4 separate regions of the Homo sapiens genome follow, and all the other regions are linked to region 1. The links are contacts of gene promoters, found by promoter capture Hi-C in blood cells and fetal thymus (Javierre and others, 2016). All regions are on one chromosome and are shown on one strand. The core of a region is centred on a gene start or on the middle of the fragment in contact, and the rest is flanking DNA. Distances in the headings are between cores, read along the strand shown.

Region 1 (7,008 bases), core at 1,370-3,869:
AATATTTGAATTGGACATTGTTCCTAAACCATATTTGATAAAAATTAAGATAATATGTTTACAGGATGTTTCTGTTTTCCCCAAACAGTCTTACCAAAGTGCTTTTTAATAGAATGACCACATGATGTTAAATATTTTTCATTTTGAAATAATTTCAGGCTTAGAAAAAAGTTACAAAAATGGTACAAATAATTCCATTATATCCTTCACTCAGCGTTCACAAATCTTAACATTTTATATAGCTATAGTACAATAATCATAACTAGGAAATCAGCATTACTACTACTCTATTAACTAATCTGCAGATATGGATCAATTCAAATTTCTACAGTTATCTAACCAATATCTTCTTTTTTGTGGTCCAGGATTCAATCCAGGACCTCGCAATGCATTTGGTTGGCATGTCTTGTTTCTTTTAATCTGTGACAGTTTCTTACTCTTTCTTTATTGATGACTATGATACTTTTGAAAAGTACTGGCCAATTTTGTGGAAAGTCTTTTAATTTGGGTTTGTCTAGTATTTTCTCACTATTAAGGTTATGCATTTTGTGGGGCAAAAATATCACAGAAGTGATGTGTCCTTCTCATGAGGCACAGTATGTCAACATGTCTCACTAATGGTGATGTTAACTTTGATCACTTGGTTAAGGTGGTCTCTGCCAGTTTTGGCCAGTGAAAAGTTGTGATTTTATTTTTTGTGTTTAATTATAGGGGGAAGTATTCTCATCATATGCAAGGTAATTTTAGTATTCTTGACAGTTATTACTGTAATATTTGCCAAGTGGCGAGTTTCTGTTTCCATCATTCTGAAGTTAAGTTTTAATCTGAATATTCAACTGCATAATTACTTCCTAAAGATATTTGACTAATACTTTCTCTACTTCACACTAGGGGAAAAAAAGACATTTGGAGGCTGTGTATATGTATGCTGTGGAATTAATGGCTATAATGGAATTTATAAATGTATTTTTACAGATAATTGCATTCTAAATGAATGATTCACTATTCTTAGTACTTGTAAGAAATTGGATTCTAAAAATCCCAATTTACATGGATTTATGAGCTTATTAGTTGAATTGCTTTTATTCTGTGTTTATACAAAATGGTTAAATGTAAACTATATTTAAAAATAGAACAAAGATAATATGTCCTTCATATTATTTCCAATATACTTTGAGTTTTAGTTGGCATTTGCAAAACTGATCATTTAAATTAACAATGCATCTGACTCTCATCCAATAATAGTTTACTTTTATTTAGTCTTAATGTTTGCTGAAAGATTTACTGGAATTTGGAATGAGTACTCCACTGCAAGGAAAATAGACTTCTTGTGGGTGAAACTTAGAGATCTTTTAATCCACTAGTTATTTGACTATCAAACATTTTGATATATGTCATTTGAAGATTAAGTTACCCTATGCAGCATTATTATTGTACATAGAAAACTGGTCTAAGATTGGGTCTTAGTTCTAATGCCATTTTTTCTTGCTTTCAGTATGAAGGAAAGCAGGGGAGTGAGTTTTAGGTTTTTTTTTTTTTTTTTTTTTGGATCACTGACCCTTTTGAGTATCTGCTATCTATGAACTGTTTCCCCAGAAAAACACACAAACTCACATTGCCTTAGAGCAAAATACAATCCAATGTCAAAAATGGTTGGGGGGTTAGCAAGGGAGGGACAAACAGGCTGCCAGGCTGTCAGAGGCTTCCCAGATGCAGTGTCCCCTCCTGCCATATGGCACAACTCGGCTCTCTTGGCAGCTCAGATGGGCAGCTAAGGCTGCACAGCCCATCTGGTTCCCTGTCATTTCCCGCCAGACCTCTTCCTCAACCCTCAATATCTTCCTCTCCCCCTTTATCACGGAGTCCCCAGTGTGCTCAGCTTTCTGGCCCCCTCTTCACGCCTTATGAGGTCCTGCCTGTCACTGGTTCTTTCACTACCTCTTCACCTCTCTCACCTACCCCCTGCTAAGGAACAGGGCTCAGAAGCCCGAGTGAGAGGACCTGACTACTCCCAATGTATAGAGCAGGGAATAATTTATTGCATAAATATGTCAACGCTCTCCCTTTTGATCGGCATAGAAATCTTGCCACGTTTTCTTGCCTTCTGAAAACGAAGAGCTGACGAACACGCCTCACATCTATAGCTGACACAGCGATTACCAACGGACAGAGGCCGGAGAGCTGTGCACGCTCGGATCCTGCAAAGGCAGGGTGTGGTTGGAGAAAGAGAAGTGGGTGCAGAGGAACAGGGATCAGGGCCGTTATAAGGAAACATTCTTGTTTCTGAAAATGGAAAGATCGTGAACTCCCAGAACCCGCTTCTTCGCCCGCCAACCCCTCCGCCTCCTGCCGCGGTGGCAGCCCCCGGCGCCAGGCCCAGCCGCAGGCCCGCCACGGCTCGCGGCAAAGCTTGGCGCCCGGGTGCGCGCCTCGGCCGGAGGCGGTGGCGGGGCGGGGCCCAGAGAGGGCCGGCAGGGGCGGGGCCGCGGCGCGCGCCGGGGAATCCCACCCGGGCTCTGACGACACCGCGGCGCCGGCCAATAAGAAGCCGGCGAGGGGGATTCCCGCGCCGACTGCCGCCCCGCCGGCTTTTTAAATGGTACCCTGGGGAACACCTTGCAGCGGCGGTGGGAGGAGTGGGGGACCTGGAGGGAGGTGGTGAAATAGAATGGTCCTGGGGGACGGGACTCCAGGGGTTTGACGATTAGGCGTCAAGACTGACTTAGACCTGGGAAGAAAACCAGAGGCAGTCGAGCAGAGAGGCCAAACGCCAGGCAGGGCGAAGTCAGCCGGAGATGGAGTGGAAACTGGAGCGCACCGCGCCTCGGAGGGTCCGCACGGAAGAGGAGATGCTGTGGGTGAGTAACACCCTTTTCTGCATTCTCCCTAACTCTCTAATGCGGGGCCGAAGGCCCCGTTCATAATATCTGTTTAGGACCAAGAGGTGGTACGAAACTCTAAGCCCTGGTCGTAAATTTGAGTGATGTAATTTAGTTATATTCTGAAGGTGCCTAGTTGCCAAAAAAAAAAAAAAAAAAAAAAAAAAGTGTAATCTGACAAGCACAAGATCTAGAAAAATTCCACACCTGAAATTATGATTTTCCTAAATAGTTTCTCCCTCAATATGTTATCTGTGTTTTCAAAGGAAAGTATCATGCGTGTGCTCTCCAAAGACTTGAAGCAGAAGAGAAGTCAAGATTCCGCCAACGTGAGTCCAGGGCTTGTTCTTGTTCTCTGTTTTAATTCTGATCTTGAACAAACGAATTCTTGGTAAATAATGTATTTGTAGGAAGTTTGAGCTGGTCTGAAAATATGAGAATTTTAGTATCTTATTACATACTAAAAAAAATTTCTTTATGAAACTGAAGATCCCAGACAAATAATGCAATCGTTTGCATCTGAATCGTACTTTCTAGTTTCTGCCTCCACAGCAAAGGATAAAGCTGGGATGTGTCAGGTAGGCAGTGTATTGCTAGCGGCTGTTAATGATTTTAACAGTTGCTAGTTGCACTCCTCTCTGTTGCATTCAGAAGCACGCCCCCCAAAGAAATGGAAATGGTGCCATCTTGTGGACAATGTGGAGAAGTGGCATAAACCATGGTTCTTAACGTGAGCAATTTAAAGTTGATCCAATGTAGTACCTGTTCTCCTTGAAAGACCAAACCCAAAGGTCTTTAGTGTCTCCTGTAATCAGTGTAAAAGGAAACAAATTTAAATGGTTTTATAAACGTGTTTCATAAAGAGCCTTCATCTGCTTTAAATCTCTGTCACCATTTACCATGCTTCTCTCTAGGCTCAATAGTTCATCTTCCTTTGACCTGTACGCAGAGATTCTAGTTCCAAATCCACCACCATTTTAATAGATTTTTCTAGATCTTATATAAATTTTGCAACTAGGCACTGTGGCTCATGCCTGTAATCCCGGCACTTTGGGATGCTGAGGCAGGAGGATCACTTGAGGCCAAGACTTCAAGACCAGCCTGGACAACACAGGGAGACCTTGTCTTTATAAAAAAACTGCAAAAATTAGCTGGGCATGATGACATGTGCCTGTAGTCCCAGCTACTTGGGAGCCTGAGGCAGGAGGATTGCTTGAGCCCAGGCGTTCAAGGCTGCAGTGAGCTATGATTGCACAACTGCACTCCAGCCTGGAGGACAGAGCCAGACCCTGCCTCTTAAAAAAAAAAATTCAGTATTCAAGTGGTAACATCCTATATTGAATACATAATTGCATTTTCAGAACTCGATTACTAATGTCATTTCTAGTAGGAGAAAACTAATTGCATTTAAGCCCTTACATTTCTTAAATACTTTAATGTTGATTTTTTCCCCCAAACACTGCTGCAGTTTTGTGTCGTGCACAGCTTATGTATTATCACGACTCCTAGATATTTTACTGTCTAATACAGACAAGTAGTCTTTGGATCAGTAAACAGAAGTGATTTGAAAAGCTATAGTTAAGTAACTTTTTATTTATTTTTTTGAGACAGAGTCTCACTTTGTTGCCCAGGTTGGAGTGCAGTGGTGCAATCTCGGCTCACTGCAAACTCCAGCTCCCGGGTTCAAGTGATTCTCATGTCTCAGCCTCCTGAGTAGCTGGGATTACAGGCAGCACCACCACGCTGGGCTAATTTTTGTATTTTTAATAGAGACGGGGTTTCACCATGTTGGCCAGGCTGGTCTTGAACTTGTGACCTTAGGGGATCAGCCAACCTTGGCCTCCCAAAGTGCTGGCATTACAGGCATAAGCCACTGCGCCCAGCCTACAGTTAAGTAACTTTTAAAATTCATTTGTACTGTAGAACATATTTTTATCCAAGCATTTAATTTGGAAAACCTAAATGTAAGTATTCTGAAAGTTTTAAAGTTTTTGTTTAACTTTTATGTTTTTGACTAGATTCAAGCAAATATTGATTTTATTTCTTATAGTCTTGAAGTAATACATTTTGTGTATAAGTTTTCTTTAATGTGACTATTAAGATTAGAGTTCTGCCACTATGTTTCATGTTACAAATTTAGCCTCAGTGACTGCCTGGGCCACGAGAATCGGCAGTGACCTGAATCAGGTAGGCAGTGTATTGTTAGCTGGCTGCTTGGGTCAAGTCAGCAGCCACAACTACCCTGCCACTTGCTTCTGGATAAATTCTTCTTGTCAATGAAGTGCTCTGGATACCTGTGTGTGATGAGCTGGCAGTGTATTGTTAGCTGGTTGAATATGTGAATGGCATCGGCTAACATGCAACTGCTGTCTTATTGCATATACAATGAACATCAGAGTGTAACTGAATCTGTAATTAGTGTGTGTTTATGTGTACTTTCTGCTATGAAGCAAGCCACTATTTACCATAATATATTATTGCCATTAGCTTATAATACAGTAATACTTACAATGCACAGTTTTATAATGGTAAGGAAAGTATTACAATTACTTAAATTTTTTCCTTTTAAGAAAAATTTACTTATGCCTGCTTTTCCATAACTAAAAATTTTTAAGAAATATTTTTGGAGTCTTTGGAGTCTTTCGGAGTAGACAGTGTTTAAGTATTTATGAAATTACATGTTTTTAACTATAAGGTTTAGAATGTAATAACAATGTGGAATGGACCTACAATGTGTCCCCAGATTTTCAGTGAAGTCTTTAGGATTCTTTCTGCATTATTAGTTTCTTTCTTTTTTTTTTTTGAGACGGAGTCTCGCTTTGTCGCCCAGGCTGGAGTACAGTGGCGCGATCTCGGCTCACTGCAAGCTCCGCCTCCCGGGTTCACGCCATTCTCCTGCCTCAGCCTCTGGAGTAGCTGGGACTACAGGCGCCTGCTACCATGCCCGGCTAATTTTTTTGTATTTTTAGTAGAGACGGGGTTTCACCGTGTTAGCTGGGATGGTCTCGATCTCCTGACCTCGTGATCCACCCGCCTCGGCCTCCCAAAGTGCTGGGATTACAGGCGTGAGCCACTGCGCCCGGCCTCTGCATCATTAGTTTCTAAATACAGCATTAGAATTGGTTTCTATAGCCATGACTGTGTGTGTACCAACTGAAGGGAAAGTTGAGGTAATTTTCCAGATGAGTCAGTCAACTAAAACATTTTTCACTTGAAATATCAAGAATATTGGGGATTTTTTTTGGGTGGGGGATGGTTTACATTTTTTTGGAAGATCTACCTCAATCCTTTCACTTCATTTTCTGTAAAATCACAGGTTCATGAAATATTTGGAAGACAGCATGAGATCTAACAACTTGTGAAGTGGGAAGAACTGACCATACAATATGACCTTAAATATATTCTCATTACCTTGGAGGCATTTTGACCCACGAAGTAGCATAGATATGTGCTGGCTTCCAGACATGCAGTATTCTTGTGCGGACATTTGCAGCCAGTCAGTGGAACTGACTTTGGTGGTGCCATCAGTTAGTTAAGCCATAGATGAGATATAAGAAATATTTCGCATTCTCTACTGTACTGGATTATAAGTTATTGGTAAAATAATTTTTATGCTTTCCTTATTTAAACATATTTCTAGAACATGGGTTAAATAGATATCTATAATTTGATTCTTACGCATTTTACTACTTTCAAATCACATCCTCTTTTTGATGTTGCCCAGTGTTATTCACTTTCAGGAGATTTATGTTTAAGTATATCTTCCATGTAAATATTATTTTCATCTTGTCTTTTTTTAAGGTTAAATTTCAACATGTTATTTTCTATAAAGAATCACTGACCTAGTGATAAAAATAAAACCTACTAAATTTAGAAGCTTTGGCTTTTGTGTGTTAGTTTTTTTAAATTAAAGAGCAAGATATAAAATGCCAACTTTATTTTATTTTAGATCCAGGGGGTACATGTGCAGGTTTGTTACATAAATATAATAGGCGATGCTGGGGTTTGGGCTTCTAGTGAACCTATCACCCAAATAGTGAACATTGTACCCAATAGATAGTTTTTCAGTCCTTGTATTCCTTCCTTCTACCCCTTCTGGAGTCCCCAGTGTCTACTGTTTCCATCTTCA
Region 2 (7,008 bases), core at 3,357-5,856, 300 kb after region 1:
GTGGCCAGAGAAGGCCTTTCAGAAGGACAAGGTGGGGTTTGTTCTCTGACGTTTGCCCCGTGACCCCTCACACACCCCTCAGCCTCCACCCTAGCTGTCCTCCTAACACTGCCCTCAGCCAGACTGGACTTTCAGGTGCTTGTGTTCACCTCTCTTATCAGGGGACCTGCCCCGATAATCACGTAGGTTCTTTTCTATTTTCCTAAGTGTCGACTGGCTTGAGAAATAAAAGGACAGAGTACAAAAGAGAGAAATTTTAAAGCTGAGCGTCCAGGGGAGACATCACACATTGGTAGGATCCGTGATGCCCCACAAGCCACAAAAACCAGCAAGTTTTTATTAGGGAGTTTCAAAAGGGGAGGGAGTATACGAATAGGTGTGGGTGACAGACATCAAGTACTTAACAGGGTAATAGAATATCACAAGGCAAGTGGAGGCAGGGCGAGATCACAGGACCACAGGACCGAAGCGAAATTAAAATTGCTAATGAAGTTTTGGGCACCACTGTCATTGATAACATCTTATCAGGAGACAGGGTTTTGAGATCAACCGGTCTGACCAAAATTTATTAGGTGGGAATTTCCTCTTCCTAATAAGCCTGGGAGCACTATGGGAGACTGGAGTTTATTTCACCTCTGCAATCTCGACCATAAGAGACAGGTACGCCCCGGGGGGGCCAGTTCAGAGACCTACTCCTAGGTGCGCATTCTCTTTCTCAGGGACGTTCCATGCTGAGAAAAGGAATTCATCGATATTTCTCCCATTTGCTTTTGAAAGAAGAGAAATATGGCTCTGTTCCGCCCGGCTCACTGGCGGTCAGAGTTTAAGGTTATCTCTCTTATTCCCTGAACAATTGCTCTTATCCTGTTCTTTTTTCAAGGTGCCCACATTTCATATTGCTCAAACACACATGCTGTACAATTTGTGTAGTTAACGCAATTATTACAGGGTCCTGAGACGATATACATCCTTCTCGGCTGACAGGATTAAGAGATTAAAGCAAAGACAGGCATAGGAAATCACAAGGATATTGATTGGGGAAGTGATAAGTGTCCATGAAATCTTTACAATTTATGTTTAGAGATTGCAGTAAAGACAGGCATAAGAAATTACAAAAGTATTAATTTGGGGAACTAATAAGTGTCCATAAAATCTTCATAATCCACGTTCTTCTGTCATGGCTTCAGTCGGTCCCTCCGTTTGGGGTCCTTGACTTCCTGCAACACTCTCTCCCTTCTTTCCTGTCTTCCTGTCTGCTCCATTGCTCAGGTCTTTCCAGAAGCCATTGCCTGAAACCCTCTGACTCCGCCTCCCTTGATTAGGCCCCGTGCTTCTGTTGTGTGTTTTTCAATTAATAATCAAGCAACTGTAATAACTTGATTAGCAGTCTCTCATGTTCACCATTGAATCCTCAGTACTAAATAAGATGCTTGGTATCACTTGTGGACAGAATAACCCATGCATAGGACGGCCACTTAAATCTGCCCCTTTCCAAGTGAAGTCATTAATCTCACTTTAGAGATTAGGGATAGGGAGAGACACTTTATAGTTGGATTGCTCCTTCCCTTATACCTCAGGTGGCCCTGGAGGTGCTTCTGATGGACCAACTTTCTAATATCACTTGGGTGCACACTCTTCTTTCCAAGTGGCTTTCTTCTTTGGTAGGCTGCAGGCCTCTTTGTTTCATTGATTCTGCATCTTCAACTCCTGACAATACCTGGCACATAGTAGGCACTCTATAAATAGTAAGCCAAACAACAAAAGCATAGAACCAAAATAAAACAAAAAACCGGAGAGATGTAATTTGGAAGAAGGAATGGGAACCAATTCTAAGGAGGATATAATGAATAAAATAATCACCTTCCTGGGAGAAATTGCAGAGCAGTCTAAATGTTTTATATATTTTACCAACGGAAGACTCTGGCTGCCACTCAACCATTTCCTCATTTCTGTAAGCATGCAAAACCAGGAGGTTATCTGATTATTGCTCAACTTTGTTTCACTAATACTGAAATCACACTTTTTCTTCGCTGAATGTAGGGATCACGTTTCTTTTTCCAGGAGCCAATTTCACTCGTGTTTCTATTTGCTCTTTATTATTATTTTGAGACACTTACTAGGGGCTGCAAAAGATAGGATCTACTTAGGGGTATGTGAGGACATGAACTGGCTTTAGGCTGTCAAACCAGGTTTTAACCTAGTTCCTTGCTTTTCCCCAGAGGCAATGGAAATTTCTGGCCACCAGCTGGGACTAGAATTGATTTAGTGCCAGAGAGGTGAAACGTGGGAAAATATAGGGATATTGTTTATTAATGTTACTTAGTCATTCTCAGCGGTAGCTTTTATGATTTAGAAAACATTTCCTGGTTTTGAAAACTTAACAATACAGCCTCTGAGTCTGTCAGAAATTGAGGTGGGGGCATTCAGTAATGGGAAGGCCTGGAGGATAAACTCAGCTGGTCAGTGGGTATGTAATTGCCATCTGTCAACTTTAATGACCTGAGCTCTACATTCTAGTTCTATTAAGTTTAATTATTGATGCATATTTTAAAGAGAGAAAAGGGTGCTTATGCATATTTAGGAGAGTCTGTAGGGATCATCTTCATTTCTGTATTAACTTCCTATCTTCATAAAAAACTGGATTAGTAGTGGGGAAAGCTTGGTTTGTGTCCTAGCTCTGTTTCTAACCAACTGTTGACTTTATGCAAGTCCCTAAGCTTTTCTAAGTTTGAGTTTACTCAATTATAGAATAAGGGGTCTACTAGGTCAGTTTAGTTTGGTTCAATAAATGCTTGCTTACTGCCTGCCTGTTTTAGGTCAGGTTCCCTAGTGAGAAAGCCTGAGTGAGGGATTGTAGTGCAAATGAATCACTGAGTGATTTTTCCCAGTAGAGAACGTAAGGAAGTGAGGGAAGCAGGATAGGGCAGGAGAAGATGCCAAGCGAAGATGTGGTTTCAACTGATGTAACCTCAGCCTGATCCCAGAGGGGAATCTGGAATATGAATGGCAACACAGAGTTCTACATATTTTATAGATCAGTTCCAATCAATCTTTGTCTGTGGATTGCTCTCCAGGGTAGGGGGTGTGATATCACTGGAGCTTTTGGATAAGGCAGTTCAGCAACTGAAGGATGGGGGCACCAGCCTGTTAAAAGGGATCAAAATGGGACACCAACAGAAACTATGACACCACCCGTGTGCCAGGCACTGTGCTAGGTACTGAAGAGATGAGATACAAAAGGTATGGTCCCCGATCTTAGAAAACTTACAGAATAATGCAGGAGATAGATGCATAAATAAGAAATGTTAACACAACTTGGCAGGTTCTAGGATAAAGAAATGCACAGAGGAGCAAAGAGGGGAGGCAGATATTGCAGGCTAGATTCCCCAAAACTTTACTTGGAGCTTGACTACTCTGATGATGACCTCCTGGGTCTGAGTCTCAGCTTCTTTTGCCCTCCTGCTATAGAAGATGAGAAGGACTTTGCTAACAGGAAGGCCTTCTGGCTTTCACACTTAGTTTGTAATTGTCAACTAATCTTTCCCAGCTTTTCCTTATCTTTTCCAAAGCTTCATTCAAGCTTGGCAATAGGCACCCAATTCCATTGTCTTCATAGTTACTTTTTATTTGCCCTGTTTTTAAGAGCTCAGCATTTCATAGCCAGGCCTAACGTATTCCTTTATGCTCTTACACCAAGCCAGCTCACCACCAGTGAAGTTTGCAGTCATTGCCAGGGCTCTCTGTGGTTCACCTACCACCAGTGACAGTGTCCTAATTACCATTTGAGTAGTGGTTGGTCCAGCTGCAAATCTCATCTTATCATCTGCTTTTTCAGACCACTTCCAGTACCAATTGTCACAGGTTGGGCTTCTGGGGAGGCAGAATCTGAAATGGAACTTAGCATGCAGGAGGTTTATTAGAGAGAGCTCATAGGATCAACTCCTATGGAGGGGAAAGAAGCATTCTGGGGTAGATGGAGGAGTTGAATTGTAATTTCATCTCAGTTGAAACCTCAGCTACCTCTCTTGAGAGTTGTGAAGAGGGAATGACCGTTCAGAGCTTTCCAGAGTTGGGGTGAGAGAACACTGAGCCTTTTATACACCCATGTCATATCTCTGGGTCACCCCAGGAAGCAGATAAGGCCTTGGGAAAGGCAACTTTCTTCACCAGGATCAGTCCCTGAAAAGAGATGATAATATAAGGTGGAATAGTCATTGCATAATAAATTTACTAATATATTTCTTTTGTTATTTTCCTCTTAGCATCTTTTTATGGTGAAAGCTATGTGGAGTTCAACATCATAGAAGTTTCCTCTGAGCTATCTCTTCAATTAAAATTTCATACCAGCAAACCACAGGGATTACTTTTGCTTGCAGCTGGGACAAATGACTATTGTATAATAGAACTTAAATCAGGAACCTTATGTGTATGATTTTAAATCTTGAAAATACATATAAGCATATAATTACTGGAGAGAAAAGCAGTTGAGAGAGAAAGAGAACAAAACAGCTACATGTATTGATTGCTGTTATTTCATTAGAATAAAATGATGTGCCATTTGTATAGGTTGGGATCTCCTTCGGTTTTACTAGCATGGCTTAAATATTCCAACTTTAAAATTTCCTGAGTTTAGTATGTAATCTATAAGCATGGGAAGAGTTTTCATGTGCAAATTTCTCTCTTCTTTTTCTTTTGTGAAAGGTCCGATTTTCTCAATAAAACATTATGAAATGAAAAGTGAGATGAGATTGATTAATTATGATTCTTTTTCAGGTGAGAGTAAATTTGGGTACAAGTGAACAAATGCTCCTTTCTGAGCAGAGACTTCATATGGATGACCTGGTTTGGCATTTGGTGGAACTGTGCTATGTTAAGCATAATATTTCCTTTGTTATTGACAAACGTTATGAGACAACTGGCCAAATGGCAGCTGGTGGGATGCATAATTTGAATTTTCAACATGGAATCTATGTAGGAGGCCGCAGGGCACTCAATGTACCTTATCTGTACGGAAAGCTCCCCAATTTTTGAGGATGTATGAAGGATGTGGTATTTAACCAGAGGGAGATCCTTACGTCCCTTAGATCTTACCCTGGTTTTAAGAAGGTTTATGAGGTGTCACTAGGATGCAATGACGAGTTTTTTTTGCAGGGGAGGATGAAGCCATCAATTTCTTTAGCTCCAGATTCTCTGTCAGTTTTCCAGAATGGAAAGTGCAAGGGTAAACACTATTGGAATTTACTTTGCAAACTGTAACTCAGCAAGCCTTGCTTTCATTTCAGTTGGGTAAGGAAGGAGATTTTGTTGCTTTGTAAATAGATGAAAGTCTATTGAAGGCTTATGTAGGAAGGCATAAAAGTAAAACTCAGCTTTCTTCTTTTAGTTTTGTCAGTGACAACAAGTGGCATGTTATTCAATTCAAATTCACAGGGGAGTATCTGGACCTAACAGTAGATGAAAAAAAGGTAAGGAAGTCACTGCCTTTGCAAAGCAAACATTTGTATCTGAAGGAGCCCTTTTTGTGGGAGGTCTTGATAACCAAATGTGGGAAGAAGTAAAGAGGTTAGAACTTGCCTCTGTGCCTGGGAAATTTGCTCGAGGAACCTCTTTCAAAGGGTGCTTAAGAAGCTTGGAAGCCAATTCAGAAAAGAGAGCGTTAAGGGATGCCCTTGTTTTCAAAGATATTCCTGTTGTTGTAAAACTGAGAGTGTTGATAACACAAATCCTTCCATAACAGCGATAGAAAATCTGCATCAGTCAGAAGTTTTCCTTTCCACTGCCGTCCCTGAGGTCATCAAGCCTTTTCTTCAAGATGAGAGTAGCGATTTCTTGGTTTTGAATAACTTGCAGGTCCAAGAAGGTGGACCTTACTGAAACAAAGGCACATGAAACTGGATGTGAAATTTAAGGATTTGGGTATCCATCATTCTCAAATACTATTTAAAATAGAGGGAAGGCCTATTCATGGGTTCCTTCAATTAAATGTACCACCTGAGCAAGTAATGGAGACAGCTTTTACCATGTTAGACTTATGGCAAGGAAAAGTTTGATATGTCCATGATGGTTCAGAAGAACCTATGGATTATTTTACATTTTTGGTTTCTCCCAATAGCAAGAAAGAAATGCCATTATATCTGCAAGAACGTGTTCCACATGTGTTTAACATTATTGTCATTCCAGTCAATGATCCCCCATACCTTAAGGTACCAGAAGGAAACTTGCTTCTTCTATTTGAGAACTCTAAGAAACAACTGACCCCAAGTATGATAGACATGTCAGACCCTGACACAGATTCTTTGAGTCTTTGTATTTCAGTTCTTGGCAACTTCAATTCAGATGCTGGGGTTTTAGAAAATGCAAGTGATCCCGGGAATGCCATTAATCATTTTACACATGAAGATTTAAGAGATGGCAACATTTTCTATGTGCACAGGGGTCATCGAAACTCTCAGATTGTTCTGAGAGCAAGTGATGGAGAGCTGGTTAGTAATACAGCAGTGGTGTGGAACATGGCTGTTTCTTGGGACTTTGCAGTGGCCGTTAGAACTGGTGTGGTTGTAGAACAGGGTGGCACTCCTCTGATTACATGGAGTAACTTGTCAGTGGAGGTTAATGGTGAATGGCATGAGATGGAGACCCGCTCTGACATCACTCATCCACCTCAGTATGGCCAGATTCAGCGGTGAGGGTCAAGTGGGAAATGGAAACAAGTTAGTACCTTTTCTCAGTGTTCTGTTGATTGGAGTCGGGTCCAGTACTATAGTACATTGAAAGAATTGCAGCTAGAAAATGTTACAGATCATTTTAAATGTAAAGTTAACATAGAAGGAAAAGTCAGTGAAGAGCTGATATTTCCAGTTACAACACAATGGCTGAAGTTTATCCTGAAAAATGTTCCTCTAGAGATGAGTCAACTAAACAAGAACATATTGAATTCTGATCATTTGCAGGCTGCAACAGAGGGTGTGGAAGTAGCTGAGAGGGAACTACATTTTAAGTTATTGATCC
Region 3 (7,008 bases), core at 1,468-3,967, 280 kb after region 1:
TAACTTCAGAGACCCAGCACTGTCCTAGTACTTCTTCTCTCTCTCTCTGACTATACACCACCCTTCTGGTGACTTTAGGCTTCATGAACCAGCCCCTGGATAAGCTGAAAGCAAATGTTCAGGATGTTTCTAAATGCCAAATCTTTGATCTGGGCTCTGAATTCTAAAATTGGCAGAAAGATAGGCCTACCAGCCTTACCCACAATATTATACTGTAACCAGAAGTGGCTGGAATCATAGTTTGACATATTAGTTTAGTTTTTCCTTTTGTGAGCACCCTTTCACTTATAATTCAAACAAGTAATCTTTGTGCCTATGAATCTCATACCCATAAGCGTTTAGGTTTTTGTAACATAAAAGCTACAATAGCTCAGGGGCTCTTTCAACTTTCTCCTGGGCTGCAACCCTCTATGAGCCAAGAACAAAAACACAGCCAAAAGCAGAGGGAGAGAGTAGGTTCTTCCCCATGTCAAAAGAGATTATTTTCCAGGGCTAGGGAGAAAAAATGACTAGGCATGGTTGGGGGGGAAAAGAAGAGAATAAACGAATGGGGGTTATGAGCTTTCCCTGAGTTGACTCTGAGGAATTTACCAAAGATGCCAGGTGGCTGGGTCTGGCCAAGGATGGAGAACCTGCCTCTTTGTGAGCCTCAGTCCACAGACTGCCCAGTCTCCATCAGAAAGAACCCATCCTGTGCCTGTGCTCTAGGGCCAAGTGTGCTATTTATTCTGTTGCTGTCAAGTGAGGACTTTGCATTTGCTGGCAATCCTCAACGAGATGTTGAATCAAATCCTCAGTTGGTCCCCAGTTTAATTCATTGTATGGAAATTGCCCCTCACAATCCCTACGACCCTTGGAAGATCAAGAAGGGGTGGAGCACTATCCACATGATGAGGGTGTTGCCAGTGAGGAAGAACACACGTGTGTATGTGATGGGGAGAAACTGAGCAAGCTTGAGAAATTGCACAAACTCCTGATATCCTGAGATGCTACTCTTCCTTCTCCTGTTAGCCCTCGGACAGAAGCTGTCTCCTAAGGAGGAAAGAACAGGCTGGAAGCACCAGGCCCTCATGTGCTCCTGCTTTCTAGGCCTTGTACAACATCTCCATTGACCCACTCTTTAAAATCCAACTCACATACCCAAAAAGGCTCCTGCTCTCCTCCTGTTTATCATATGTGGCTTTCCTTTGCAGTTAAGGCTCTTTCAGTGGGGTTCTGTTCCTTGCAAGCAAACTACTATGGTGGAGTAATATTTTATAAATGAAACAAATCCCTGCATCTCCCCACACCCTTTTTCTCCTTGGTGTTTCCATGTCTTTGAACAGTATTCTTCAAGGAAGAGATATCTCATTTTGCTTAAAAGCAACAGGAGTGGTTAACAGTCAAAATGCTGCCTACCATTATGTCTCAAGCATATTTTGTGAATGACCTCATTTAACCTTACAAAATCCCAATGGAGGTAGGTACTACACTATGTCCATATCTCAGATGGCAAAACTGAGGCACAAAGGCTAAGTAACTTGGCTTGCTGAGTGGTGAAGCTGGGATTTGAACCTCTGACCACTCACAGAGTGAGGGGTTATAAAGCCTCCGTGAAAAGCTGCCTTCCTAAATAATGGAGCTGTTACCCCAACTGCTTTTTAGATGCATAATTCTCCTCCTTCTGGTGGTACTATTTTAACTTGGGCCTTGGGGTCTCTCTGGGCTCAGAGGGGGACAAGGGAGCTGAATGAGTTAGGCTCCTGCAGAGTCAGCCTGGCCCCAATCTAGTTCTCTTCTGGTTTCCCAAGCTGCCCTTCCTGGTACCAAATATACCTCAGTTTCCAAGTTATTAGTTCTGGGTCTCTTTGTGGGTAGAATCTCCCATAAAGTGTTTATCTTCCCATAAATCAAGGAAGAGCAGAATCCATTTGCACTTTTCTACTTGGAGAACATTTCCCCTTTTCTACTCAGACCAGCTACCTTGAAATATTCCCCTTGGGGCTAGGCAGAGTTTTCCTTCTAGCCAGGATATAGACCTTTTCTGCACGTGCTCTAGGTCACTGAGTTAATGTCACATTAAGGGGCTGTGTGGGTTCTGCAGAGTAACAAGCGACTTCTCGGTTGCTGGAGGCAGCCAGTTCACCTAGAATTGCTCCACTCTCCTTGGAAAAAGGTTGTGGTTTTTGAAAAATTAGAATCCTTGACAGAGGTCCTCAAGAGATCCCTGTCTTTCCTGAGGCAGCTTCCCAGAAATTAGATAATTTAATCTCTGCAGAAAACTCAGAAGTTTTCATTTGCCCATTCTTCCTTCCTTCTGTTGACTTCCTGGGAGACAGAAAGCATCCTGAGGTACTCTTTCAAAGACTTTTTTTTCTGAAACCAGCAGTGACTTCTGAGCGTCTAACTCATTTTCACACATCAGTGCTCACTGAGGTCACAGCCATTGCCTCAAAGAAATTGGCTCAAATTCAACTATTTGTTAACCAGTCTGGGAGTAGGGTAGGTTCCATAAGAATTCTTAGCATTCCTGGGTAGGCATCTTAACATGGCAAATACAAGTCTTCTTGTCTACATCTCAATTCTGTGCAAATGATACATTTATGTTTTAGTAATCAAACTTATGATTTTACACTTTATTCTGCTGAGTGGCTAAAACTCCATCTTGGTTTATGCAGTGTTTCCTCCTTCTCACTACCCAGCAAGCCAAGAGGAAAAGGATTTCCTGGGTTAGAGGACAGAACAGTCAAGGCAAAATGGTCAGTGCGATGACATTGGTGGGCCTTACAGAAAGTCAGAGCCCCATGGAAGGAGCCCAATCCCACAGCTAGATGAATGGACCCCAAAAGACAGTAAGATTTCCAGACAGAAAATGTCTGTGTGGTGAGTATTAGTAGTCAAGGCCTTACCCAGCCTCACAGAGCTCCTGCACTAGGGGTGGCCCAAGAGCGTTCAGAGTAGCTTGAGAGAAATGGAAAAGGTTGCTGACCTGATGGGACCATTCAGCTGGGAAGGAGGCGGTCTCCATGGAGCCTGCATGGACTGACACCTGAAGACCACGTGGGGTGAAGAATGTCTCAGGGGGGCCTGCACAACGGTGAGAGTGTCTTGTAACAGACAACTGCCACACCCCTTCTTCAGTCATCTTGATGTCTTAGCACTACATAAGTTCCAGGAAACTGCAAAACAACTTGGGGCAGGGGATGCAGGAAAGAATCCTTCAACTGGCTGAGTTGTAGTTTTGCATCTGCAACAGATTGGAAGGTCAAAACAGAAATCAAGTTGATTTTAGAAAAATACTGAAAGTCATAATTTGTGCACACCGGAATCTGTGAAGCTAGAGTTATAGACTAGCTCTAGGAAAGTATGGATTTACTGAAAGAACTCAGAAGAATCTCATGGACATAAAATTCAGGAAGTACATCTGGACTTCATAAGAATGGGAAAGCCACCAGGCAACGATTTTCTGTGGCTTGATTGTCCCTTACGATCAGCTTTTCTCTGGAACATGGTACCAATCTCCTCTCTGCAAAGACCAAGACAGAGGCAAGTGGCTCCTTCTGCTGACTTGTAGTCCCTGTTCCTCCATAGCTTGAATGGAATTTGGATCTCTGCTGGATTTTTATGAAGGTACCACCTGCACATGACTTACTGGTTCTGTGACTGCCACCAGATCATTGCATTCTTTATGCTTCTTGGTTGAAAGTTTTGAGAAGGAATCAGCTTTGACATTCTTGTTTCCCAGGGTCATGCCCTTTAGATGAGGAATTCACCTGGTCCAACTGTGTGGGGTCAGAGGGTGAGGGGCCATGCAAATCTGACACAGCTGCTCAAGCTGGTCACATCAACAATGGTGTATGGGCTGGACAGTTCCAGAAAGGAGACTTTTGGGCCCAGAGGCATGACCCAACTTCCAATTCACTTTTATTAAAATTACTGCTGTACATGTCTTATGTCTCTCTCTATGTTGCAGCTTCCTAGAAAGCAGAGTCTGTAACTGATCTCTGCATGCACCAGGGCATCTTTCATGTGCCTTTTGCATTTGAAAGAGTTCAGTGAATATTTGTTGAATCAATGAATGGCACATCCCTATATTTGTTTTATGCTCTCTATACCTTCATTTCTGAGTGAACCATGTTCAGGCCAATATCTGAATAGGATAATTCCTGTTGCTGGGGTATAGCAGGAGAGTGCCAGTCAAAATGACTAGGTTAGAGTGTGGCCCTTATTTGGGTGGATTTCCTGACCAGACACTACAAAGAAACATCCTTAGAGTCACCACATACATGGGTTTTCCCTAACTGAGCATCTTAACTTCCCGGTATTCTAGATCCATCTTAGCTGCCATGGAAATTGGATGGAGATCACATTCAATCTTTGAAGCATTTAAGTGGTAATTTAGAACTAATTCAAACAAGAGGAGCAAGTGGTGCCCTACGGGGAGCAAATTCATAGTTATCTCTTTTTGACATTTTGAAAGATGTTTCTAAATTAAAAGCTTCAAGTTATTGGCAATCACTACCTTGGTTTGTGTAAAGAAATCCAAACTTTACAAGTTTCCTTGTGTGCCCATTTAAAGAGCTCTATTTAAATGAGGGAGCCATCTGATGCTAATGATAACCAGTTAGAATCATAAAATGTTGAGCCTGAAGGGAATTTATGGATCATTTAGTCCATCCCTCTCATTTCATAAGGGAGGAAGCTGAGGCTGGTGCAGGATACGTGCCTTGTCCCACATCTAGGACCAGAGCTATAAATCCTACCCATCTGGTCCTGTGTTCTTCAGCCCCTAGAAAATCCACACTGCTGTGGACAGCTGGAGGATGCTGGAGATTACTAACATGGAGAACATAAGTAGTCTTTAGCAGTATACATGGCTAAGTACACAGAAAAAAAATGAAACAGTCCTCCATGCTGCAGGAAAGATGAGAGATGGCTCATTCTCAAGAGTGTGTGTCTGAGGCTTGGGATCGAGTCAGGGCTACTCAGAGGCTGGTAGAGAAGGCCTGCAGGCCCAACTGGGCCCCCAGGTATAATTATAGTGCCCAGAATTCTTACCATGAGCCAGGTACTGTTTAATACTCAATCCTCATGAGTTCACTAACCTGCGCAACACACCTATGGAATCAGAATGATTATCTGCATTTTACAAACGAGGGGAGAGTTGGAACATTTAAGTGATTTGGCCAAGGTCACATACCAATGTCACTTACTAGTATCCAAGGCAGAATTTGCACCCAGGTCTTTCAAACCCCTGAGCTTGTGTTCTTAGCCAGAGATAACCAATATTTGAATAGATGCCCCTCTGGGAGACATTGGTGAGAGCTTGGGCCTCTCTGGGTAATCTTGTTCTATGCTGCCTGTGCTTTTACATTTATATGGATACTTGAGCCTGCCAGGATAATTTCTGCATGCTTGGATTGATCTGAGCTGAACTGGCCTTTCAGACCCCAGCAGACTTCCCAAGCTTCACCTCCAGCACTCTGGTAGGACACAGCCCAGGGTGGGGCCAATTTTTGTGCTTATTAACTCACATTCCTTGTGGAGAGGCTTTCCATTTGCTTAAAATGCTAAAGCTTTTGAAGGACTGTAGAGCGTTGGTGTGATTTCCACATTTTAAGAAGGAAAAAGCAGAGGCACAGTGTGTTTAGTTTATACTGGGCTATGTGGGAGACCACAGTGGCTGGGAGTAATAGGTTTGTGTGGAGCCTGGAAAATCTAATCTTTTTCGGCTGGTTCCCCTCTTAGATGCTTGTCAGCCAGCTGATTACTCATTTCTTGCTTGTTGGAGAAACAATACTGATAAAGTGCACAACATTTGATTGGGATGGGGGGGCAGATAGGACACAAAGGAACTAGGAGATGTAGATGAGTCCAGCGAGGCCAGGGGTAGAACTCCACCTGCCCAGGCAGCTTTAAGGGTTCTTGCCAGGGGTGGTTGGGGACCTCTAACTAGACTCTTCAAGCTACTTTGAAATCCTGCTCTAATTTAGTTTGAAGCTAAAGAACTACTGCGACTGTCCTTGCAACCCAGAGAGGAAGGAGTTGTAGAAAAGGAAGCTTGGATTCACCTGTATATTAGGCACAAAACCACCACACATGTCAGTGGAATCTCTCTGCCCCTTTAGCTCCATTCTGAGACTTCAAAAAGTCATAACGAATCCTCACAACCATCATATGAGGTAGGAACTATCACTATGCCCATTTTGCGGCAAAAAGCATGTGGCAGGCCTGGTATCAAGGCACAAAGAGGCTAAGGGACTTGCCCTGGGCCACTGAGGTAAGTCTGGGATGCAAAGTCAGTGGCCAGGTTCTTAACCACAAAATCTGCTCCTTCTACTTCCTTCTCAGAAGCTCCTTCCAACCCCCAACTTTCTTGTTTGGGACTAAATATGCAGTTCCACCAAGTACTCACATTAATGAGCAGGTTAGGTTACCACCATGGGTAATTAGAGCCTAGTCCTCTAGGAGACTATTTAGAACCCACTTTGGTGTTGTCCCACCCCAGGGTGAGGAAATTTGGATATTTGGTCACCAATTCCCTTCCATAATTGGTTGAGGGCTGCTCCTGTGAGCATCCACCCCTGGCCTGTCTTGGGCATTCAAGGGCGAGGCATGGTCCTACACCCAGAGAGTAAGTCCCATGTAGAGAGCTGCAGGTGCTTGCCGGAGAAAGTCAATAGCATGTAAGGCAATCATGAGTGCCAGGCGAATCTGGGCTGAGGACAGTGATCAGCTGGAAGTCAGCTCCTCCTCTTGGGGCTTGCAAATTTATGGCCTGCAGAGCACAAACCATAGCTAGTGTGATGTAAATCATGCTTGGATTGAAGTTAAGAAGGTTCTTTTGCTTAAAGTAATAGAACCCTACCTGAGGTAGCTTAGGTTAAAAGGGGACTTGACTGACTCATGTAATCAAATCCCAGAAAAGATAAGAGTACAGCTGGCCTTGTGGATGAATGGACACGACAGATCTCATTCATCCCAGGCCAAGCTGCAAATCTTTTTGTCTGCTCTCTTCTCATTTAGAGG
Region 4 (7,008 bases), core at 2,909-5,408, 270 kb after region 1:
GGAAGAGCTGCAGAGATCTCCACTCAGGCCTAAGGCATTGGGGCCCAGCTCTGCAGAGCTGAAGTAAGATGGCCTCACACAGTCTCCCAGAGGCCAGGTGCGCTGTGCAGCTGTTTCCAGGCACTCCTTGTTCTCTCTCTCCTTCCACAATCAGGGCCTATTCAGGAGTTTGAAATGGCTGTGTGGTTGTTTCCTTTCTTTCTAGTCCAATAGTCTTTCCCTTCCAAGTCTAGATTCTGCTCTGATTCTCGGGGCTCCTCAGGGTACTTGATGTTCCCATTCAGTCAGGGTCCCGTGGGCTTTGTAAGCAGGGGTCCTGTGACCAGCCTTTTCTTTGGTCCTGGGTATGTGGCTTTTTCATTTCCCCTGAGTTCAGTCTCCTTTTTGAATCAGCATACACGGTGGACTCATTCTTATTCTCCATCTCTGTCTCATTCTCTTACACACACACACACACACACACACAAGTGTCAACAATATCTTTTAAGTTGAAAGCTCATGGAGGAACAAAGAACACCATGCCCTGCACTCTCTTTTTCTTTTCCAGCCACTAGAGACTGCTTCTAGAAATGTTCAGGCTCTCTGAGATATTTTTAAGTTATCAAACATGGACCCTACCACTTAGCTAAGATTATAAATCTGTAAGTCATATGCCTTATCTGGGATTCAGTTTCATCATGTATAAATTGAAAAAAATATGCCTGTCCCTTTAAAGAGTTGTTGTAAAGAATAAAGTGATTTATATTCATGAAAATACTATTCAAATACTTATCTTATTTTTCTTTCTGGTCAGAGAATCCAAAGTAGCCTGTGTCTCATACAAGCATGAATCATGATATTGAAAAGGTTAAAACAACAACTGCAACAAAATACACCAGCCAGATGGAGGCTGATGTCTGTGAAAAAGCAGCTTCAGCTGTAGCCAATGATTTTAACTTAGGAGGTAAACACAAAAAGGCTGGGGCCCCTGAACAAGGTACTTGGTTGGTGGTCAGAACAGCACTGCAGACAGTGGAAACTTAATGAAGACTTTCTGCTTCTGTGGATGCAGACGATGGCAGTGAAGAGGATGATCATCATCAAAGGTCATCTCACAATTGAAGGTCAGTGCATGAAAGGGCTGTTGAGGAATGCAAGGATTCAGCCATTTTCCTGATGATGCTCTTGGGAGGTCTTCTCATGTCTAGATTCACTGAGGAGTGGACAATTATTTTCCACCCATCTGGCTCTACTCTTTGGCTTTCCAATTTACTGCCTGACTACAGAGCCAATCAGCAGATATTTGCAGTGGAATCTCGCGAGTTGGCTGAACACTGAGTCTGAAGCTGTATTTGGAGTGCCACAGGCAATTAACCACACATCTCTCTTTCAATGAACCAGTTTTCCAGGGACTCAATGGTGGGCTGATATCTTGTGAAATAATCTTGTGGGTTTGTACAGAGGGTAATGGGCCACATCTCATGATTCAAGACACATGGCCACCTTGAATGTACAGTCATAATTCCAGGCAAATAATCAGAAGTGTCTTAGGGGAAAGTCAGGTGAAACAGGATAGTCACTGCATCATCAAGCAGTACTAACCCAAGGCCTGTTCGACATCTCTGGTTGCAGCTGAAGTTCCTGGAGAAAATATATTGAGCTTTTGATGCTGCCAGGGTACAATTTAGTAAGTTGTTAACATGTTCCAAGAAATTACCTAGTGTTCTATTGACAATTCACATGTAGGGATTAGTTTAATTCTTATTTTAAAGCAATCTTTGTTTCCCTAAGAGGTCCAACAGGGCTACAATGATAATAAAATACTAATCTGTGATTCAGCATCCACAAGCAAAATCACGAGGTCCTTAGCAGTGCCCATTGCCACAGACTGAAAAATAATCCTCTCCTTTTTCCAAAGGCATCTAGGATCTGACATTTGCTCACTAATGGTTCATGCTGCTTTCTCCTTTTACCTCTGTCACCCTCACTGGGGCTGCCAGTTTCTAGGAGATGAGGCTGCTTAATGTCTTGGCCAAAGACTGGCCTCAGGAGTCAGAGGATGGGTTTATCCCCCAGCTTGGCTGTGTGACCCTGGGTGAACCACCCACCCAGCCTCTCTGTGTCCAAGGTTGGTGCCCTGTCCCTTTCTCTCATTATGTTCTTGCCCCTGGCAGTGCTATAGTTACAGCTGTTAGTCTGTACGGGCTCAATAATTCAACACTCATTCAACAAATATTTACTAACTGCCCACTGTGTGCCAGATGCTGTTCTTAGTGCTTGCTGAAAAAACATATACATTCCTGTCCTCATGGAACTTCTAGCTTGCAGGAGGTGGACTATACACAAGTAAACAAAATACATAGAATGTCAGAGGGGAGGAGAGCTGGGGAGGAAAGGAAAGCAGGGGAAAAAGAGCCAGTGAGGGGTGGGGTCACTGACATTTTAAAGAGAGGATTAGAGAAGCCTTCAAGGAGAAAATGACATTTAAGCAAAGCCCTAGAGTAGGGAAGAGCATGAACCATGAAGATTAGGGGAGGGAAGCTTTCCAGGCAGAGGTTACAGTGAGGGCTTGTAGGTTACACCTCACAATGGGTGGGGTGAGGCTGGAGGGTTTGCAGTGCAGCCAGGAGGCTGATGCTGCTGGAGCCAAGAGAGCCCGAGAAGAGACAGTGGTGGAAGAAGAGTTCTGAAAATTAGGAGTGTGTTACAGAGGTTGTGCCAGTGCCCACTGGATGGGCTGTTCAAGTCTTCATCAGGACTTTTTCTCTGAGTGTGTGTTTGGTGGGGGGTTTGGGTGGGGACGGTGGATGGCAGGGTTTTAGCTGAAGAGAGATCTGAATTATGTTTAAAAAGATCATGTTACCTGCTGTGTTGAGAATAGACTTGGAGGAGAGGGTGGTGTTGCAAAAACAGAAACAGCCAAACCAGTTAAGAGGCATCTACCATAATCAGGACAATACACAGTGGTGGCTTGGACCAGGGTAGCAGGGTTAATAGTCAGATTCTGGATTATTTTTAAGGCACAGCAAACAGGATGGGTAGGACAACTTCCCAAATCAATATTTCCAGTTGATCACTCTCCCAAGGGCCAGCCTGATGGTGTTAAACCACTACTGGACCACTCCACCTGAATGGCTTCGCAGAGCTCCAACTTTATCATGCCCCAAACTAGCACCCTCTAACACTACACCCACCCTAACCAGCTCTCTTCTTATTTTTTTCTGGATATAGCTCTTTAGAATCCTATGAGTCTTCCTTACTCTCCATATAGAATAGTTGATACATTTCTAAAGATTATTTCCTCGTCGCCATTTGAATCTAATCTTTTCTAATTCCTTTCTAATTCTACTGCCATAACTGTAGTTAGACTTCCCTTATCTCGCTCCTCAAGACTCAATTCCACAAATCCCGAGTAGCTGTTATATGCAAGGCACTGCTGGAAGTGCAAGGAGTCAAATACAACCCCAGTCCCCTAGGCAGTTAGCTAATAATGAGATGAGACCATAGTGAGAGAGGCAAGCACCAAGCTGGTCACCAAGCAGCCACCTCAAGGCATGGCCCCCATTTCCCTGATCACACCACAGAAGGGGCTGGTGCTCACACCACCCGCAAATGCTGACCTGGAAGAGGGCCCGAGCCCTGTCAGGTTGCTATTGCATCCCAGCTCTGGCTGAGTGCTTCCTTGGTCTGCAGCTTAACAGACCTGCAGCCATTTTCCCGGAAGACAGAACTCACTGTAGTGCAAGGACCACATCTCTGGATTCACTTACATCAGGGCTTGACTCTCAGTTCTGTCATTCATTCCCTTCAGGCCTTTGAGTGGGTTGCTTACTTTTCTCCAAGCAAGTTTTCCGAAGCTTAACGACTATAAATATAAAGTGGCTTGCACAGACTTGGCATTTGACGAACAGTAACTAATATTAGATGTCACTGTCTCCCCCTTCTGATCTACCTTTCACAGTGCCACTAGGTTCATTTGCCTAAAACACAGGTCTTACATTATTGTATTGTCTGCATGGTAATTTACCATAAAAAATGCCTTGATACAAGGAATGTGATGCATGTATGTTAGTAAATTTTAACCCACATCTCTTTTTGAGTTTTTGACATCCTTAAGCATTTTTACTAATAGAAATCATCTAATCTTCTCTTAAAGATAAGCAAATGGTAGGAAAAAAAATTTTTTTTCTCTTCTTATATCTTTTTAGATTAATTAGTAAATCTGAAAGTATTTATTATATACCTGATAGGTCCATGGACTGGGCAATAGAAGATAAGAAAGATATAATATTTGTCTCCTGCTTTTAAGTGTCTTTTAAGTTGAATGGGAGAGACTAGAGTCATATAAAACAATTAGAACAATATATTTGGAAGAATAAAAGGAGTTTCTATGGGAACCGTGAAACTCACACTGTGTACTGAAGATTGGATAGATTGAGATAGGTGGAAGGCAGAGAGAAGAAATTCCAATTTGGATCAATGATGCTGTAGTCTAAGCTTGTCCAACCCGCCCACATGCAGCCCAGGACAGCTTTGAAATTGGCCCAGTACAAACTTGTAAACTTTCTTAAACATTATGAGACTTTCTTTCTCTTATTATTATTTTTTTAGCTTGTCAGGTATTGTTAGTGTTAGTGTATTTTATGTGTGGCCCAAGACAACCCTTCTTCTTCCAATGTGGCCCAGGGAAGCCAAAAGATTGGACGCTCCTGGTAGTCTGTTATCTTCAACTCTCTGTTGTAGTCTATTTTCTCATTGACTGTCTCATTCAGCAAATTCTGTACTGAAGGTTTAGCTTTGTTAAATACTCTATTGAATTACAAATTGATTTGTGATCTTCCACAAACCTCCTTCTGCAATACTTGGGAATTTCAACCCTCTGTGTCATTTTCTACTACGCTTTGTTGAAAGTAGGACCTGTGTTGGACAAACAAAGCCTGATAAAAAAGCCGAGTTACATATCAGCTTTTCCTTCTCTGGGAGTGTCAAACACCCAAGTAAAGCAGTTTTCCCCATGGAACCCAAACAGCTTAGGTTTCCAGTTTTAAATCAGGAGATTTCTGTTATGCAATTTATTCCCACTATTTTTCTCATTTCACATTGGAATGTTGATCTTAAGCAACTGTCAATCCTACAAAAATACACAGGGCATCTTTTAGCACAGTATCACTTTTTATTTCATTTGGCTGGTAAAGACAGCTTTGTACAAGGGAATTTAGAACTTGTCAACCGAATTTTGGTTAATGTCACTTGAGTTTAAAGAGACTAGATTCCTGTTTCCCTTCATTTTCCTAGAAGTGAGATCTAAATTCAGTTTTATTTCATAGAGCTTGCTGGACACAGGGCTGGCTCCAAAGACAGCACTTAAAGTAGCAGACAGTTATTTTCTCAAAGCCTAATGGCGCCCTCAAGCGGCACATTCCATTGCAAGATTTTCAATCTCATGGCAGTCTTTTCAGAAGTTTTGTTTCTTAGAAGCAGGATAAATTTTTTTTTGAAACATTAAAGCAATCAGTTAGGTTTATTATTTTTAAAGATGACAATGCAAATTCCTCCTTATTAGTCTTCAATCCCTGAAGGTTCAAGATGTTTCTTGCCTCCTGCTGCCATGAGAAGGAAACTTAGAGGCATGCGGTGATGCTACATGGCACGGCCGGTGGATGATTTCTCAGAACGTTCTCATGGGAAGGGTGGGTGCACTCTTAGAATCAGTCATTCCTGCTGAGTTGATGTTTGAACAAGGGAGGGGGCTTGAGAAACTAGGTAAAAAAATGCTTTGAAACTAAGCATGTTCTGGCCTTCGTTTTCCTACACATACAGTTTTAAGAAGGCGCAGTGATTTATACTTCACAAGGTAGTAAATAGTGCTGAATTCTTTGGTTTCCTCTGAAGCATCAGTGATCAAGTTACTGGTGGGATGAATGAACCACTTTGGTGATTGTTTTTCCAGGGTGACTTTGAACACAAAATCTTTGAAGTGTTCTAGTGGATGGATTCAGAGCTTCCCACAGGCTGGCAAACCATTCATGAGACCTCCTCACATTCCCCAGTTCAGTAGGAGTGAGGTGGCCTATGTGAGAGGTAGGAGAGCCACAGGCTGTGGGTAGTCCAACATCTGTTGCATGGGTGTTTTATTAGTCACTTGGTCAAAGAATCCTCCCTGAGAGGCTGGGAGGATCTGCATCTCCCTCAGTCAACTAGGCTGAGTGGCCTGATTAAAAGTCAGCACACACCTGGCTTGGTACATGCAGACACCATCTGAAGTCTGGGAGGGCAAATTGCTTCTGACAATGTCAGTCACGGGAGGGACCTGGAGTGACTCTCACGCTTACACCTTCTCACTAACTTTGGCATTTTATACAGATCCCACAGAAGAGTCAAAGCAATTATCTAAGAGCTTAAAAACTACAGAAATGAGAAAGAAACCTTTCAAATTATCATTGCTTTGATAATGGAGCATCAATTTCAATGCAATGTCATGGAGGTTTATGCACAAGTCAGGAGGTGCACTGGTTTAGTAAATCAGAAGGATTTTGTTGTTGCTAAGCTCATTAACATTCCCGGGAGAGCAATGAAGATACCACTTTGCTGGCTATGGCCTTACAGGTGACCACATTGAATGCAGATGAAAAGAAGCCAAAAGAGTCAACAAAGAGAAAACACAAATTCAGGTGTGTTTAGTCGGTGTGAAAGATAAAGAGTTCCCTGATTCTCATGTTCCCTCTTCAGGGAAGGGAACTGTGTACCTTCTCCTTTTTTTTTATTTTTTATTTTTTGTTCACATAAGATTAATTGCATAAAGTGAAAATCCACTGGAAGATTGGAGGAGTTTCATCATGAAGGGTGAAGGCTCGTGCGCCATACTTTCATAAATGTGTGTGCCTGGGAGGAGGGGACAGAAAGGACAGGACATCCCTGCTAGCTCTTCCATGGAAGGCTGAGCAAATAACCAGGGAAAGGATAGAGAACTGGAGTCACTCTTTGGGATTTAGGCTCATGATTCATACTGGCCACTGGAGGGTGCCCCTC

The links. Contacts are between HindIII fragments. The CHiCAGO score rates a contact against its expected background, and 5 or more counts as called.
Region 2: a contact is called between a fragment that was not itself captured here and the fragment with the promoter of CDC20B in region 1, in 2 of 17 cell types (total CD8 T cells and naive CD4 T cells). The highest score is 5.8, in total CD8 T cells.
Region 3: a contact is called between a fragment that was not itself captured here and the fragment with the promoter of CDC20B in region 1, in 3 of 17 cell types (total CD8 T cells, naive CD4 T cells and activated CD4 T cells). The highest score is 5.9, in total CD8 T cells.
Region 4: a fragment that was not itself captured here is called in contact with the fragment with the promoter of CDC20B in region 1 in 13 of 17 cell types (total CD8 T cells, naive CD4 T cells, total CD4 T cells and 10 more); the score reaches 22.6 in total CD8 T cells.

Annotation. Positions count from the first base shown.
Region 1 is chr5:55,168,788-55,175,795 of GRCh38, reverse strand. It overlaps CDC20B (cell division cycle 20B), which reads left to right and starts at 2,619. Exons shown (of 12, transcript NM_001170402.1): 1 at 2,619-2,858; 2 at 3,146-3,208. The coding sequence starts at 2,796. It overlaps MIR449C (microRNA 449c), which reads left to right and starts at 3,443; the gene lies at 3,443-3,534. MIR449A (microRNA 449a) reads left to right here and starts at 5,174; the gene lies at 5,174-5,264. MIR449B (microRNA 449b) reads left to right here and starts at 5,054; the gene lies at 5,054-5,150. RefSeq lists silencers at 2,184-2,513, 2,601-2,895. The HindIII fragment of the contact is 4,347 bases long and covers 2,412-6,758 here.
Region 2 is chr5:54,869,797-54,876,804 of GRCh38, reverse strand. It overlaps the pseudogene CSPG4BP. Among named protein-coding and RNA genes, the nearest start is that of ESM1, 110 kb to the left of the region's middle. The HindIII fragment of the contact is 2,048 bases long and covers 3,583-5,630 here.
Region 3 is chr5:54,885,485-54,892,492 of GRCh38, reverse strand. No RefSeq gene overlaps it. Among named protein-coding and RNA genes, the nearest start is that of ESM1, 97 kb to the left of the region's middle. The HindIII fragment of the contact is 3,525 bases long and covers 955-4,479 here.
Region 4 is chr5:54,904,523-54,911,530 of GRCh38, reverse strand. No RefSeq gene overlaps it. Among named protein-coding and RNA genes, the nearest start is that of ESM1, 78 kb to the left of the region's middle. The HindIII fragment of the contact is 640 bases long and covers 3,839-4,478 here.